Linked DNA regions of Homo sapiens: all the other regions are linked to region 3. The links are contacts of gene promoters, found by promoter capture Hi-C in blood cells and fetal thymus (Javierre and others, 2016). All regions are on one chromosome and are shown on one strand. The core of a region is centred on a gene start or on the middle of the fragment in contact, and the rest is flanking DNA. Distances in the headings are between cores, read along the strand shown.

Region 1 (2,700 bases), core at 31-2,530, 270 kb after region 3:
CTTAAACCTTCAAAACAATTTTTGTAACCTTTTAATGTAGGTAAAAATCCACATTCTTATGCTTCCTTATAATCCTTTTACCAAAGGCATATTTTACTTTCCTTATATACCTTGCACATAAACTGTTTCTTCAACAGTTTTACATTCAGGAGGATAATTAATTTAAATTATACAACATTTCTTGCATAAATTTCTTTTTCTAACACTTTTTTTCATGATTTTCACAGACAATTCTTCGACATGTCTCAACTTTCTGACTTATTGGAAACATCCCTTTCCTTAAACAACTAGTTAATTTATTTCAGGACAAGAATTTTCCATATAACATTCCTTTTTATATAAATTCTGCACCCCCACTTTTTTTCTTTTTTCTTTTTTTCGAAGATGATAACCATTCTTTTCCAAAGCAAACTTCCTTCAGGTCTGTGGACTAGACTGTCTAAGGCCACAGATTAGAAGTTACTATCATACACGTTACACTGTTAACTTTTAGCAAAACAACTTTACTTTTGTTGAAAACCTTGTAAGTGTGGGATTTCAATTATCCTTTGCTATTAATAAGACTTTGTTTAGTCCAGATTAACTTAGAATTGGTATAGATGGCTTTTTTTTTTCCTGGTTCTGTAAGTACTTCAAGGCTTGGCTGGGTGGCAAAGTTGAGCAGACCAATTATTAGGCAATTTTCCTAACTCTACTTCTACAAGAGTTTTCCTCAATTACAAAATACCCATTGTGGTTTTTCTCCTTAATCACCTGGGAGGAACTATCTATCATCCTGTCCTGAAGGTAGTTCCTCCTAGGTCTGGTCGGATCTTTGTATGGTAATTAAGATTTAAATTCCCTGTTAGGAAATCTTCTGGGTTAAGGGAATTTTCAGGGGTTTATGTTAAATCATCTTTTTCTAACGGAGTAGCCCCATACTTTAAGATTTTTGAGTTATTAAGCTACCTTTTTGCTTTTTTTTTTTTAACTTAGGATACTTCTGAACTGGTGAGGTGTGCTCACAATGAGGTTTCCTCTAAAAGTTATTTTTCTACTTTCTTCTGTCAGCAAAGCAGTTGCCGCTACAGACTGAATGCATTCGGGCCACCCGTGGGTTAATGGGTTCAAGGAATTCACACCAAATCAGAATCAAAACCAAAACCAAAGTGCAGATAAAGGACACGCCCGTTCGTCAAGCAATTTAAACCAAGTCAAAACCAAAACCAAAACCAAAACCAAAGTGCTGATAAAGGCACGCTGTGGGTGATCAGGCCATGCTTCCACTCAAATGGAGTGGACAAGTTCCCAAGACAGGTCCTGTCAAGCAATTCAAGTCAAAATCGAAACCAAAACCAAAGTGCCGATAAAGGCACGCCCATTTGTCAAGTAATTCAAACCAAGTCAAAATCAAAACCAAAACCAAAGTGCCGACAAAGGCACGCCCGTTTGCCAAGGAATTCAAACCAAGTCAAAATCAAAACCAAAACCAAAGTGCCGATAAAGGCACTCTGTGGGTGATCAGGCCATGCTTCCACTCAAATGGAGTGGGCAAGTTCCCAAGACCAGTCCTACCATGTTCCAGATATACGGACTCCAAGCGCCAGTTCCCTCCCGGTGCTCAGCCACTGCATTGATCCTCTGCTGGGGCCTGCCATGCACTGCTCTGACAAGGCATTCCACCGGGGCAAATGCCTACCCAGGAGCATGCTCAGGATCCACGTAGCTCAAGCTGGCCAGAGTCCCCTGCAGGGATGCTCCACAGGGCAAGCCTAAGCCACCTAAGGGGCTGCTTCACTTCCCGGTCAGGGAACCAAGAAATGTAGCAGGATGAGCCACAGACAAAACTCCTCAGACACCGGGTTAAAGAAGGAAGAGGCTTTATTAGGCCGGGAGGTCAGCAGACTTGCGTCATAAGAACAGAACCGAGCTCCCCAAAGAAAGAGTTCCTGGCCCTTTTAAGGGCTTACAACTCTAAGGGGTCCACGTGACAGGGTCGTGATAGACTGAGCAAGCATGGGGTACATGACTAGGTGGGGGTAAGCAAGGCAAGTATTTCTCCACACCATTGTCTGTGATCTATAGATAGCACAAGCGATTAGGGTGGGGGTTAATCTTCAGCCTACAGGCTAAAGCAACACCAGAGAGGATGGAAGTGAGACCCCTGGAGTTGTGGTTGTGGTCAGATTGGACCTTCCCGTGGCTGCTGAGACTCTGGGGCATTGGGGATACCTGAGGATGCCTCCCTGCTCTTACTTTGTGGTCACCAAGAGATCAGGGTTACCACAACCCTATAACGTAGAGAATCCCTGTCCCCTTCCATGCCACTTCACTCCTTAGGGAAGCAAACGCCCTCCCAGGAGCTCATTCCCATTCCTGGGCCACAATCAAAGGGAAAACCTGATCCAGACATGAATTTCCTTGGGCCTCTGCATTTCCAGACATCCTGTCATTGTATGCATGGGGCTGACTGTCTCATCTCAGCTTCAGAAGCGCAGGCAGAGTTGTGGACACCCTGCTGAGCAAATGCCCACCGGAGTCAGGGGTTCAGCTTTCCTGCACCACAGCTGCAGGTGGGGGCTGGGGAGGGGGGCATAGGGGGTCCTAGGGAGTAGTTTTTGTATGAGCCTGTGTCACAGCGCTTGATGTTTAGCAGAGAGACCCAGCTGACCGTCCTAAAGAAAGGTGCAACCGAAACTCACTTCACGGGGCCTTTATAAC
Region 2 (2,700 bases), core at 145-2,644, 450 kb after region 3:
TTTGTTTGCTTGAGACAGGCTGTCACCCAGGCTGGAGTGCAGTGGTGTAATCAGGGCTCACTGCAGCCTCAACCTCCCAGGACCAAGCAATCCTCCCACCTCAGCCTCTCAAATAGGTGGGACTACAGGCATGCAACAACACAGCTGGCTAAATTTTTGTACTTTTAGTACAGATGGGGTTTTACTGTGTTGCTCGGGCTGGTCTCAAACTCCCGGACTCAAGCAATCCTCCTCCCACCTCGGCCTCCTAAAGTACTGGGATTACAGGTGTAAACCACCTTGCCAGGCTTGTTATAACATTTCTAGGACTCCTTTTCTCTAGTTGGGGATCAAAATATCCATGGCGTAGTGGAAAGAACCTTAAAGTAAGACAGCCCATTTCAATCTCAACCTTGCCTCTTACTAGCTATGCACGTTACATCACCGAATACCTGGTTTCCTCATGTGTTAAAAATATTAACATTCCTCACTGCTAAGGCTGCTGTAAAGATTCAGAGACCATGCATTCAAAGTACCCAAGACACAGTAAGTATTTGAGATGGTAATTTTTATTAGCCAGTCTAATGATTGGGTTTTATAATGAAAGAAGACCTGTTAAGTCACACCCAGCTCTGAATCATAGTGTTTGTGCTTGCCTGATAGTCACATCTGCTAAGATGAGGACCCTCTCAGTCTCTGGATGGCAGATTCTAAGGGTGTATGGGAGGAAGGTATGGAGGGCCTGATGGCCCACGCACAGCCTATTTAATCTTACAGAGCCAAGAGGAATCCTAGCTCCCTGATCCCGAAGGATTTAAGGACGGCCAAGAATTTACCCAACAATAGCTTCATTATCAAGAATCCTACCCCTTCCCCCAACTCAAAGAAATGGACTTTTGAGCAGGGTTTGAGGAGCTACTGGAAATCTGAAGCAATAGCAACAATAATTTTTTCTGGGGGGGGGGGGGGGGCGGGGACGGAGTTTTTGCTCTTGTTGCCCAGGTTGGAGTGCAATAGCGCGATCTCGGCTCACCGCAACCTCTGCCTCGCAGGTTCAAGCGATTCTCCTGCCTCAGCCTGCTGAGTAGCTGGAATTACAGGCATGCGCCTCCATGCCCGGCTAATTTTGCATTTTTACTAGAGATGGGGTTTCTCCATGTTGGTCAGGCTGGTCTCGAACTCCTGACCTCAGGTGATCCGCCCACCTCGGCCTCCCAAACTGCTAGGATTACAGGCGTGAGCCACCGCGCCCAGCCAACATCAATAAATTTAAACATCCCTTTTCAAGTATAATTTCTTCCATTCTAAGTGAAAACATTAAAAACACTGAAAGTCTCCTAAGGGTGAAATGTGTTGTATCCATTTTCTTTCTAGTCTCAACCCAAAGAGCATGGCAGTTAAGAGAACCAGGGACAAGGATTCGGGATCTGAATGCTACTCCAGATGCACCAATTTTGCCATGACCTAGAAAGCTATTTCATTTCTCTGGACTTTAATTTCTCATGCTGTAACATTGAGATGACCCCTTCTTAACGATTTGAGAAAGTTATCTTGACAAGTTTTAAAACGTTTTAAGTAGAATTGGGGAAAAAATATGCAGCAGTGAAGACTTCCAGGCTTACATCACATGTAATTTACAGCACCCTCTTAGGTCCTTTCAAAGAGCCTCATCTATTATTTATGTGGCTAACCTCCTTTTCTTTCTTTTTTTTGAAACCGAGTCTCACTCTGTTGCCCAGGCTGGAGTGCAGTGGGACAATCTCGGCTCCCTGCAACCTCCGCCTCCTGGGTTCAAGTGATTCTCCTGCCTCAGCCTCCATCGTAGCTGGGATTACAGGCACCAGCCACCACACCCAGCTAATTTTTGTATTTTTAGTAGAGGCGGGGTTTCACCATATTGGTCAGACTGGTCTCGAACTCCTAACCTCAAGTGATCCACCCACCTCAGCCTCCCAAAGTACTGGGATTACAGGCATGAGCCACTGCACGCGACCTATGTGGCTAACATTAATCACGTATGTCCATACTTCCCCATACCTCATTCCCAAAGAAGGTGCCTTACACACCATGAACTTAGATTAAAACATAACCCAAATCCTACACTTAAAAAATGAGGGACCTGAACCTCAAAGGTGGCATGGCTTGCCAAGGTTCCCCAGGCCCCCCAGAGGGCCGTTAAAATTCTGAATAAATCTTGGGTGGAAGCTGTCCTCTAGCTTACCAGCTGTATAAATTCCAGAGATCCACAACCTTTGCACTTTAGCTTCCTCATCTGTAAAGTGGGACAAAACCTTTCAGAAGACAGCTGTAAAACGTAAATGTGAATGCTTTAGCAACTGCAAAGGACATTTCAAATGTAAAAGCGACCGGGCACAGTGGCTCATGCCTGTAATCCCAGCACTTTGAGAGGCTGAGGTGGGAGGATCACTTGAGGTCAGGAGTTCAAGACCAGCCTGGCCAACATGGTGAAACCCCATCTCCACAAAAATACCAAAATTAGCCGGGCACGACAGTGGGTGCCTGTAATCCCAGCTACTCAGGAGGCTGAGGCAGGAGAATCACTTGAACCTGGGAGGCAAAGGTTGCAGTGAGCTGAGATCGTGCCATTGCACTCCAGCCTGGGTGACAAGAGTGAGACTCCCATCTCAAACAAAAAAAGAAAATGTAAGAGCCCTTTGTGTGTGTGTGTGAGAGAGAGAGAGACAGAGAGAGAAAAGAGAG
Region 3 (2,700 bases), core at 157-2,656:
ACTGGGAGTGGTGGCACGCACCTGTAGTCCCAGCTGCTTGGGAGGCTGAGGCAGGAGAATCGCTTGAACCTGGGAGGCGGAGGTTGCAGTGAGCCGAGATGGCACCACTGCACTCCAGCCTGGCGACAGAGCAAGACTCCAACTCAAAAAAATAATAAAATAAAATAAGACATAGAAAAGGGAAGAGACCTAAGGTTGCACAGACATCAAGGCTTGATTTTAAAAGAGAATTCTTTACCTCTGAAATCTTTCCAAGAAGGAACAGGGTAACCACAGGAAACTCTAAAAGTTGTATCACTTCAAGCTTTGGGATTTTTCACCCACCACAGATTCAATGAAATGGCAGTGCAGAGTACTAAACTCAGACAATTCATAACTGAGAATGATATTAATGTGTCAGAGCACCTAATCAATGGGGAGAAATTGGGGCAGAAGAGAAGAAAAGCGGAACCAGTGTAGATAATGCAACAAATGAATGGAAACTACATACTGTTTTTTGCAGCACTTACAGTCTAGTGGGGGAATGGAAAGAGGAGAGCTGTTTATAGAGTGCTTGCCGTGTGCCAAGCCCCGTGCTGATTACCCCTCCAGTGTCACTTCATTTAGCCTTCTACTCAAGAAAGAATTATGATCCCATTTTAGAGATGACGAAACAGAGATAAGAGGGGTTAATCACACCAAGTCAGTAAATGGCACAGATAGAAATTGAATCTTGCGTCTTTCTAATCCCAAAGTTGCAGTTGTTGACATGAGGCCGAACTGGAAACTGAAATCACTTAAAGCTCACTTACCACTATGAACAAGAGACACGGCGTATAAAAGCATGATTAAAGAGGTCTTGATCATCAAATGCGGCTAGACTGGGGAGTTTTGGCGATCCATAAGGGCTGTGATTTGATCATTTTGTAGTATATGTCTGGCCACAATAGATGCACCCACAAGTGTTTGTCAGAATAAATGATAAGCTGCCATGCTTCATTCTTTGGGATGCTCCTTTCTGACCAAAAAAGTTATTTGGTGTATATCCAGATTCATTCTGAAACATAAATGTTCAGCTATGGTATTTACTCAAACAGGTTTTTCTTTCTCAGCTGCTGGCGTTATCTTTTTCCCCTCCCAGCTGAGGGTGTAAACTCCAAGCCAATGCACCGAACCTGACCCAGACTCAAGGTGTTTTCATAAGCTGCTGAAAAGCATTTCCAAAACAAAAGATAACTAGATTATACTTTAAACTTCTGGATTTCGCTTAGCTGTAGTTTAGAGGAAATCGACTAATAAAGATCCTAAAGTTATACACTACAGGACAGTACAACTTAACCAGAGGAAAGACATTGGCCTGAAGAATTTTGAGCCTCGGCGCTTGCCGTTGCTCATCTGCTGCGGCGCTGGTCGCGCCTGCGCTTTGGTTCTTGGAAGGCGGTGCTCTGAGAAGCCGGACTACGCGGCAGCGGCTCTTCAAAGCGGAGCCGGGAGTTTTTGCTACAGTTTTCGCCACCATGAGTCGCAGCTATAATGATGAGCTGCAGTTCTTGGAGAAGATCAATAAAAACTGCTGGAGGATCAAGAAGGGCTTCGTGCCCAACATGCAGGTAAGGCAGGAGAGCAAATGGCGGGGCCTTCCGTGCTCCGTCCCCGGCCCGGCCGGCGTCCACTGCGCCCTCTGGACCTCCCCTGACCACTGGGTCCGCCCCGGCCCCTTGCAGAGTTTCCCTCATCCCGTCCTTCTCCCCTCACGGTTCTGGGGCCGCCCAACCTGTTCCGGCACCACCTCCCGCCAGGAGAGGTCCCCGAACCACGAGGACAAGCTAAGTGCGGTGGATATGGGAATCTAAATAAATACGAAATTGGGGTTTCCAAAGCGTTTTCACAGATCAGTCTCATAAACGTATCGTGAGCTGTTTTACGTTCACAGAAACTTCAGTGATCTTTTCCAGGGTGGAACAGCCAGCCCCAGGTTCATTTGCTGGGACTGGAATTCACCTCCTCTGAGTCATGCTGGTTATTTAAATAACGTTTACAAACCTTTGTTCACTAAACCAGGTTTTCAGCATTCAGTATCGCATGTTGGTTTTTAATAAAGCGATGTCATTTCTTGCAGTAGCGCAGGGCAGGGCCTGTTTGATTTTAATATTCACTTCACAGAAGGACCTCGAGGATCTGTCGGTGACATAGCTTCCTCTACCCACCTAGGAAGAAGCTCAGCCAGGACTTGATGTCCGGTTTACTTCTTTGACGTCCCAGATGGAGACTTGAGGGCTCAGGATCATCAGATAGTTTGAAAGCCTGGGCTCTGTATCTCTCGGCCTTCATCACCATCTGTGCTCATATTTTTATTAATGTGAAAAAAGAAAACGTTTATGAAGTTTTGCAACGTATTTTTAAATAGTTTTTGAAATCCCTGAAGGTGCCAAGTAAATGCTTCAAAGGTTTACCGTCTCGTCTCACGTCTTGGTAAACAGCTCCCAATAGTCACTCCATTCTTTTATTCAGAATCAAAGCTTACTGAGTTTCCCTTGTTGGCAAGTCACTTACACTGAGGGAAGAAAAAGCGCACGGGGATAAATCTGTGTTCTGTTTGCTGTTTGGCCACTTTCTTTGTGTGGAAACCGTTACCCTGAAGGAAGGAATAGAAAATCTAACATAGGGAGAGCGCAGTGGTTCATGGCCTGTAATCCCAACGCTTTGGGAGGCCAAGGCGGG
Region 4 (2,700 bases), core at 185-2,684, 330 kb after region 3:
GCCAATAAGAGAAAGATGGCTAAATACAGATTCAGGCCTAAGGCCAGATTGATGAATATGGCCCCCGAGAAGATGTCTGCCTGGAAGGAGAGGAGAGGCGGAGTTAGGAGGGAGAGTGGTCAGCTGCCTACAGGGCCTGTAGTCTCTCTACTCCTGATTTTCCAAGCAAGCTTTATTCAAGATGATAATACGTATTCCATGAGAAAAAGAATTCCATGGTCAAAAAGGTCTATAAAATGCTAAACAGAATTAAGGCAGTTTCTTTGCCACACAACTTTTCTGAGCCTTTAATATATGCCATGTACAGTCATCCCCAGGGAGGGAACACGGTACATGACATCTCACAAACTCACTCAACTATTGAACTCTTTTTGCCAAGGAACAGCTATTAACACTTAGAGGTTCCTTGCAAGTCACCTGTAGACTGTTGCTCTGAGCTATTGTCCATCTTTTGCACCTCAGTGTACACAGGTTTATCAGAGCTCGTCCCCAAAAGCAAGTCTGAGTGCTGGAGAGTCCATAAGTGAGAAACCCCACCCCCACCCAGGAGCGGGGAGAAACTTAGCAAGTTTGTAATTTTAACTCCCCAACCCGGATGCAGTCCATCTTGACTCAGACACAACCAGAACATCACCAAGCACCTCTTACATAGCAGGCTTGGTACTTGCTGGTTTTATTTAGATTATTTCATGTAATTTCTGGGAGAATTGCTCCCTCCTCACTCCTGAATTCTTGATGCAGTTCTTCCATCTTCACCCTTTCTCCTCCTTCCTGTCTCTTTCAGCCTTCTCCTAATGAACCTTCTACCTGGCTGGATGGTGCAGTTGCTCATATAAACCAGCAGAGAGCACCAGGGTCACCCCAAATGCATGTTCATGTCATCTCCAAAACAATACCAGGGAGGGTAGTATTAAGGGATGATCATGGTGAGTCTTTTTTATTTATTTATTTTTTGACAGAGTCTCACTCTGTCGCCCGGGCTAGAGTGCAGTGGTGCGATCTCAACTCACTGCAACCTCTGCCTCCTGGGTTCAAGCGATTCTCCTGCCTCAGCCTCCTGAGTAGCTGGGATTACATGTGTGCACCACCACACCCAGCTAATTTTTGTATTTTTAGTAGAGACAGGATTTCACCATGTTGGTCAGGCTGGTCTCGAACTCCTGACCTCGTGATCTGCCTGCCTTGGACTCCCAAAGTGCTGGGATTACAGGCGTGAGCCACTGCGCCCAGCTGAGTCTTTTGTTTTCAAATCTCCAGGTGTGGACGAAACTGGACTTCCCTAGATGGAATGAATGCACGAACTGTTTTCACTGCACAAACCCTAACATTTCACGGCACGCAAACAGCACCCAGACGGAGCCTTGGGGATGGGCCAGCAGGGTTGGACTCTTACTTCTCACATCTCCTCTTATATCTTGCATCTCCTCTCTAGTTCCGTTTCCCAGTCCCCATCCCATTGCTGCTCCTGAGGGCCCTCCAGTGTTTAAGTTTCCCACCATACCTGCCTGTCCCTCCTATGAGAATCTCCTATTCCCTCCCTCCATCAGTTAGCAAAGAGCACATCTAATACCAACTCCATGCTTCTGAGCTAACACGTGAGCCCTGGAGGGTGATTCGACCTCCTTCCCGAAGGTGGGCCTTTTGAGGACCTGATGCCATAGTTCCCCTCTGCCCAGATCTCCCCTGAAGATTCTCTCACCCAGGGGACCCAATGTCACCATCTTCCCTGGTGAAGGAGGGGAGGCAGAGCCAGGAGGTGGGAGGAGAGATGGTGAGTTAGAAAGAAACTCCTCTCTCCCTGGAGTTAGCAGTCAGAAGAACCAGCATTTTAGCCCCAGTGCCGCCACTCTAGGCCTGCAAACCTTTGGGCAAAACATTTCCCCTCTCTAATTCTCAGTGTCCTCGTGTTTATGCAGGAAGTCCTGGCTCCAGGGACTTGTGATTCTCAGTGGTTGGAAGTGGGAAAGGTCTGCAGTGAGGAAAGCATTCTTCTCCCGGGTTCTGGACCGCTTCCATTCTGCCTTGCCCTCTGCAGTAGCCCAAGAGGAGGAAGGCGCCTCTGCTGTGCATAAGTCTTGCCAAAAGTGAAATGGCCACTTCTTCCTGACTCTGCACACTGGGCCATTTGAAATTGTAATGAATATTTATAATGCTGGTCCCTCTCCTCTCATGCCTCTACACAGTCACATAAAGTTACTTAAATTCAAGGGGCCCCATTCACTGATTGCAGTGAAATTCTGTTAAATGCACACACGTTTGATTTGGTGGATTAGCTAATAAGTGTAAATAAGATAGGAAAAGATTACAAAGCTGACACTGCCTTTAAACTGCCCTTGGTTGATTTTCCAGAGTAGTTAATTTTTAATGCTTTATGACAACATGCCATCGTAGACTGTGATACCCTCATTAATATGTGCCTTGCTGTCATTAGTCACAAAGAGGCAACACATAAGTTATAAGATAATGCTATAAATGACCTCTATAAAGACTTCTGAAAAGTGTTGGGCTAATAAAAGTCTTGTTTTTATGATATTCTATTTCCTTCTAACAGTACAGATAAAGGATTCTAAGGAAACCTCCCTGGTGAATTGAAGAAACCTAGGACAAATTCTTCCTCGCATGAGTCATTCTAACTTCAGAGATGAATTCTGCCTTGGCATGCCAAAGGCCAGGCTGGGAATACCTTAGCTAAGCTTATGT
Region 5 (2,700 bases), core at 106-2,605, 310 kb after region 3:
TACAGGCATGAGCCACCATAATCTGTATTTTAAAATAACTAAGAGTGGAATTGGAATGTTCCTAACACAAAGAAATGATAAATGCTTGAGGCAATGGACACCCCAATTACCCTGATTTGATTATTTTATATTGTATGCCTGTATCAAAACATTACATGTACCCCATAATTATATACAACTATTATGTACCCATAATAATGAAAAATTTAAAAAAAATTAAAGAACATTGCAGTGTGAACATGAAACAAGGACAGATCCCCTAAATGGATACTCACATGCACATCCGGAATGGGTTTGGTGAGGAGGGAGATGACCACGATGGTGATGAAAGAAATGGCGAAGAGGATAATGGCAAAGTACAAGTAGTGCACCCCACAGATAATCGTGGGACAGTTGCTGGGCTCCATGCAGCTCCCGGTTCCATAAGCAAACTCAGTAATCATACGTGAAATCCCAATCAGAAGTCCTAGGATCAGTCCCCAAAAGGCTCCCTGTGAAAGAAAACCCTGGGTTAACTCATGCTGAACACACAAAACAGATGGCCTTTCTAACATTCTTTGGAGAGGCATAGGCAGAGGCAAAGGAACAGAGGTAGGAGAAGTGGTAGCTCCAGGCTGTCTGAACCCAGAACACTGAAGTTCAGAATATGGCTAGGAGTGCTATGCACTCAGACAGACACACTCAGTGTGTCTGTCTATCATGTTTCAGCAACATGATTTCACCTCGATCATTAAACAAGGAGCCATAATATAATGGGGTAAAGTGTCTAATAACTGGAATAGAATGTCAACCTACAGACTTGATTCCAAAAATTCCCTTTAACTTGAAAAATAATTTGAGCCTCTCCACCTGCAGCTACTGTCAACACCAATCTCCAGATTTAGGCATATTCAGATGAAAAGTAATTACTTGTGAGGTAATTTGTATTTCACAAAGACATGGGAAAAGAAATTGGGTCTTTGGAAGATGAAGGAGAAAGAAACTTTTCCATCAAAATATAAATAACACTTACTTTTTTAGCCCTCTTTGTAGTTTATTTTATGAACTATTTTTAGTTTGAGAACATAAAATTATACTGTGTTTTTACATTAAATTTTGGGTCTGCATATTAGAATATGGAAGACTTTAAGAGACCAGAAACATGAGGGGATGATTTTTCAGGGTTTTTTTTACTCCTTCCTTCCTTCCCTCCTTCCTTTTTTCCTTTCTATCTTTCCCTTAGGTAAGTCCTCACCTAAAGGACTAGGTTTGAGTTTGGCAGGCCAGTGGCAAAATAGAATGTGCTCTTAGAAGGGTGGCCCAAAAGAGCTTTCACAGTTTTATCAGGTGCTGGTCAGCCTCTTTGCTAGCCATTGGTATCCCTGCACTTTCTATTCCAAATTATCAGCTATCCCCCACACATGGCATGGCATGTGTTTTTGTCTCCAGGTCTTTGTACAGCTCATTCTATCTGGGAGAATACAGGCTCTTCTCTTCCTGGTAACCTCATTCTAGCTTAAATAGGACAAGCTACACAGGGTGGGTGCACCCTTTCTTGCTGTGGCCACAGCACTGTGGACACAGATCCAGGCAAGCACCAACCACACTGCCATGGAATCACAATAGTTCTCTGTCTCCCAATCTGAACCGGGGGATTGCCCAGGAAAGGAAACAGGTTTCATTCACTTTGTGTTGCTAGTGCCTCACCCTATGCTGGCATCTGGAAGTGACTTCTAGATGAAGAAATAAATAAGGAAAAAGAAAAAAATATGTTCCCTATTCATCCCCCATGCACTATTTCACTCAAAAAAATTATTTCTTAGCTGGGCATGGGGTGTGCCTGTAGTCCTCGCTACTTTGGAGGCTGAGGCAGAAGAATCACTTGAGTTCAGGAGTTTGAGACTAGCCTTGGCAATACAGTGAGATTCCTGTCTCAAAAAAAATCAATAAATTTGCCACGAAATAATTTTTTAAAAATTCAAATTTTTTCATAATAAAAACTCAACAAATTAGGTACAGAAGTAACAAACCTCAAAAACAATAAAGATTATAAGCTATATATGACAAACTCACAGCTGACATCATACTGAACAGGGAAAAATTGAAAGCCTTTCCGGTAAGATCTGGAAAAAGAAAAGGATACCCTTTCACCACTTTTATTCAACATAGTACTGGAAGTCCTAGACAGCGCAGTTAGGCAAGAGAAAAAGGGCATCCAAATTGGAAAAGAAGAAGTCAAATTGGCCTCATTTACATATGATATGATCTCATATTTAGAAAAACCTAAAGATTCCACCAAAGGGATCACTGTTAATGAAACCCTGACCTACCTTTCCAGCCACATCTTCCATCTTTCACATTCACAAACTCTCCTTGAGCCAGGTGAGATTCCATACAAGTCCTTCACCCTCACTCCTGTCCTACTTCTGCCTGAAAGGTCTGGGCAGTACTGTTCTCTGACTTGAATGCCATGTCTTCCCTCTCCAACTTCAAATTCTTCCAGCTCCAGCTGGTCCAAGGAGCCTTCCCTGACAGTTTCAGTCCCTGCTAATAAAGCCTTTCTTAAATCCCTTCCTGCTCATATCATGTGCTGTATTGTATCCCTTACTTCTTACGCACTTTGTTTTATGTATAAACTGCTTGTGCACCAGGACTTTGTCTTCACTGGGCCCTGAGAGGTGCTGGCTGGAAAGCCGAGTTCACAGTAGAGCACTGGAGGTA

Evidence for each region. The method cuts DNA at HindIII sites, captures the fragments that hold promoters and counts their contacts. A CHiCAGO score of 5 or more calls a contact.
Region 1: a contact is called between a fragment that was not itself captured here and the fragment with the promoter of RTCB in region 3, in 3 of 17 cell types (non-activated CD4 T cells, naive CD4 T cells and total CD8 T cells). The highest score is 7.3, in non-activated CD4 T cells.
Region 2: a contact is called between a fragment that was not itself captured here and the fragment with the promoter of RTCB in region 3, in 1 of 17 cell types (total CD8 T cells). The highest score is 7.3, in total CD8 T cells.
Region 4: a contact is called between a fragment that was not itself captured here and the fragment with the promoter of RTCB in region 3, in 1 of 17 cell types (M0 macrophages). The highest score is 5.2, in M0 macrophages.
Region 5: a fragment that was not itself captured here is called in contact with the fragment with the promoter of RTCB in region 3 in 2 of 17 cell types (total CD4 T cells and naive CD4 T cells); the score reaches 5.9 in total CD4 T cells.

Annotation. Positions count from the first base shown.
Region 1 is chr22:32,136,767-32,139,466 of GRCh38, reverse strand. No RefSeq gene overlaps it. Among named protein-coding and RNA genes, the nearest start is that of C22orf42, 21 kb to the left of the region's middle. The HindIII fragment of the contact is 8,725 bases long and covers 1-2,700 here.
Region 2 is chr22:31,959,057-31,961,756 of GRCh38, reverse strand. No RefSeq gene overlaps it. Among named protein-coding and RNA genes, the nearest start is that of LINC02558, 10 kb to the left of the region's middle. The HindIII fragment of the contact is 3,046 bases long and covers 1-2,700 here.
Region 3 is chr22:32,410,953-32,413,652 of GRCh38, reverse strand. RTCB (RNA 2',3'-cyclic phosphate and 5'-OH ligase) reads left to right here and starts at 1,406. Exons shown (of 12, transcript NM_014306.5): 1 at 1,406-1,589. The coding sequence starts at 1,497. RefSeq lists an enhancer at 1,257-1,436. The HindIII fragment of the contact is 2,194 bases long and covers 307-2,500 here.
Region 4 is chr22:32,079,246-32,081,945 of GRCh38, reverse strand. SLC5A1 (solute carrier family 5 member 1) reads right to left here. Exons shown (of 15, transcript NM_000343.4): 6 at 1-80. Among named protein-coding and RNA genes, the nearest start is that of SLC5A1, 37 kb to the right of the region's middle. The HindIII fragment of the contact is 2,523 bases long and covers 173-2,695 here.
Region 5 is chr22:32,099,813-32,102,512 of GRCh38, reverse strand. SLC5A1 (solute carrier family 5 member 1) reads right to left here. Exons shown (of 15, transcript NM_000343.4): 13 at 276-491. Among named protein-coding and RNA genes, the nearest start is that of SLC5A1, 58 kb to the right of the region's middle. The HindIII fragment of the contact is 4,968 bases long and covers 1-2,700 here.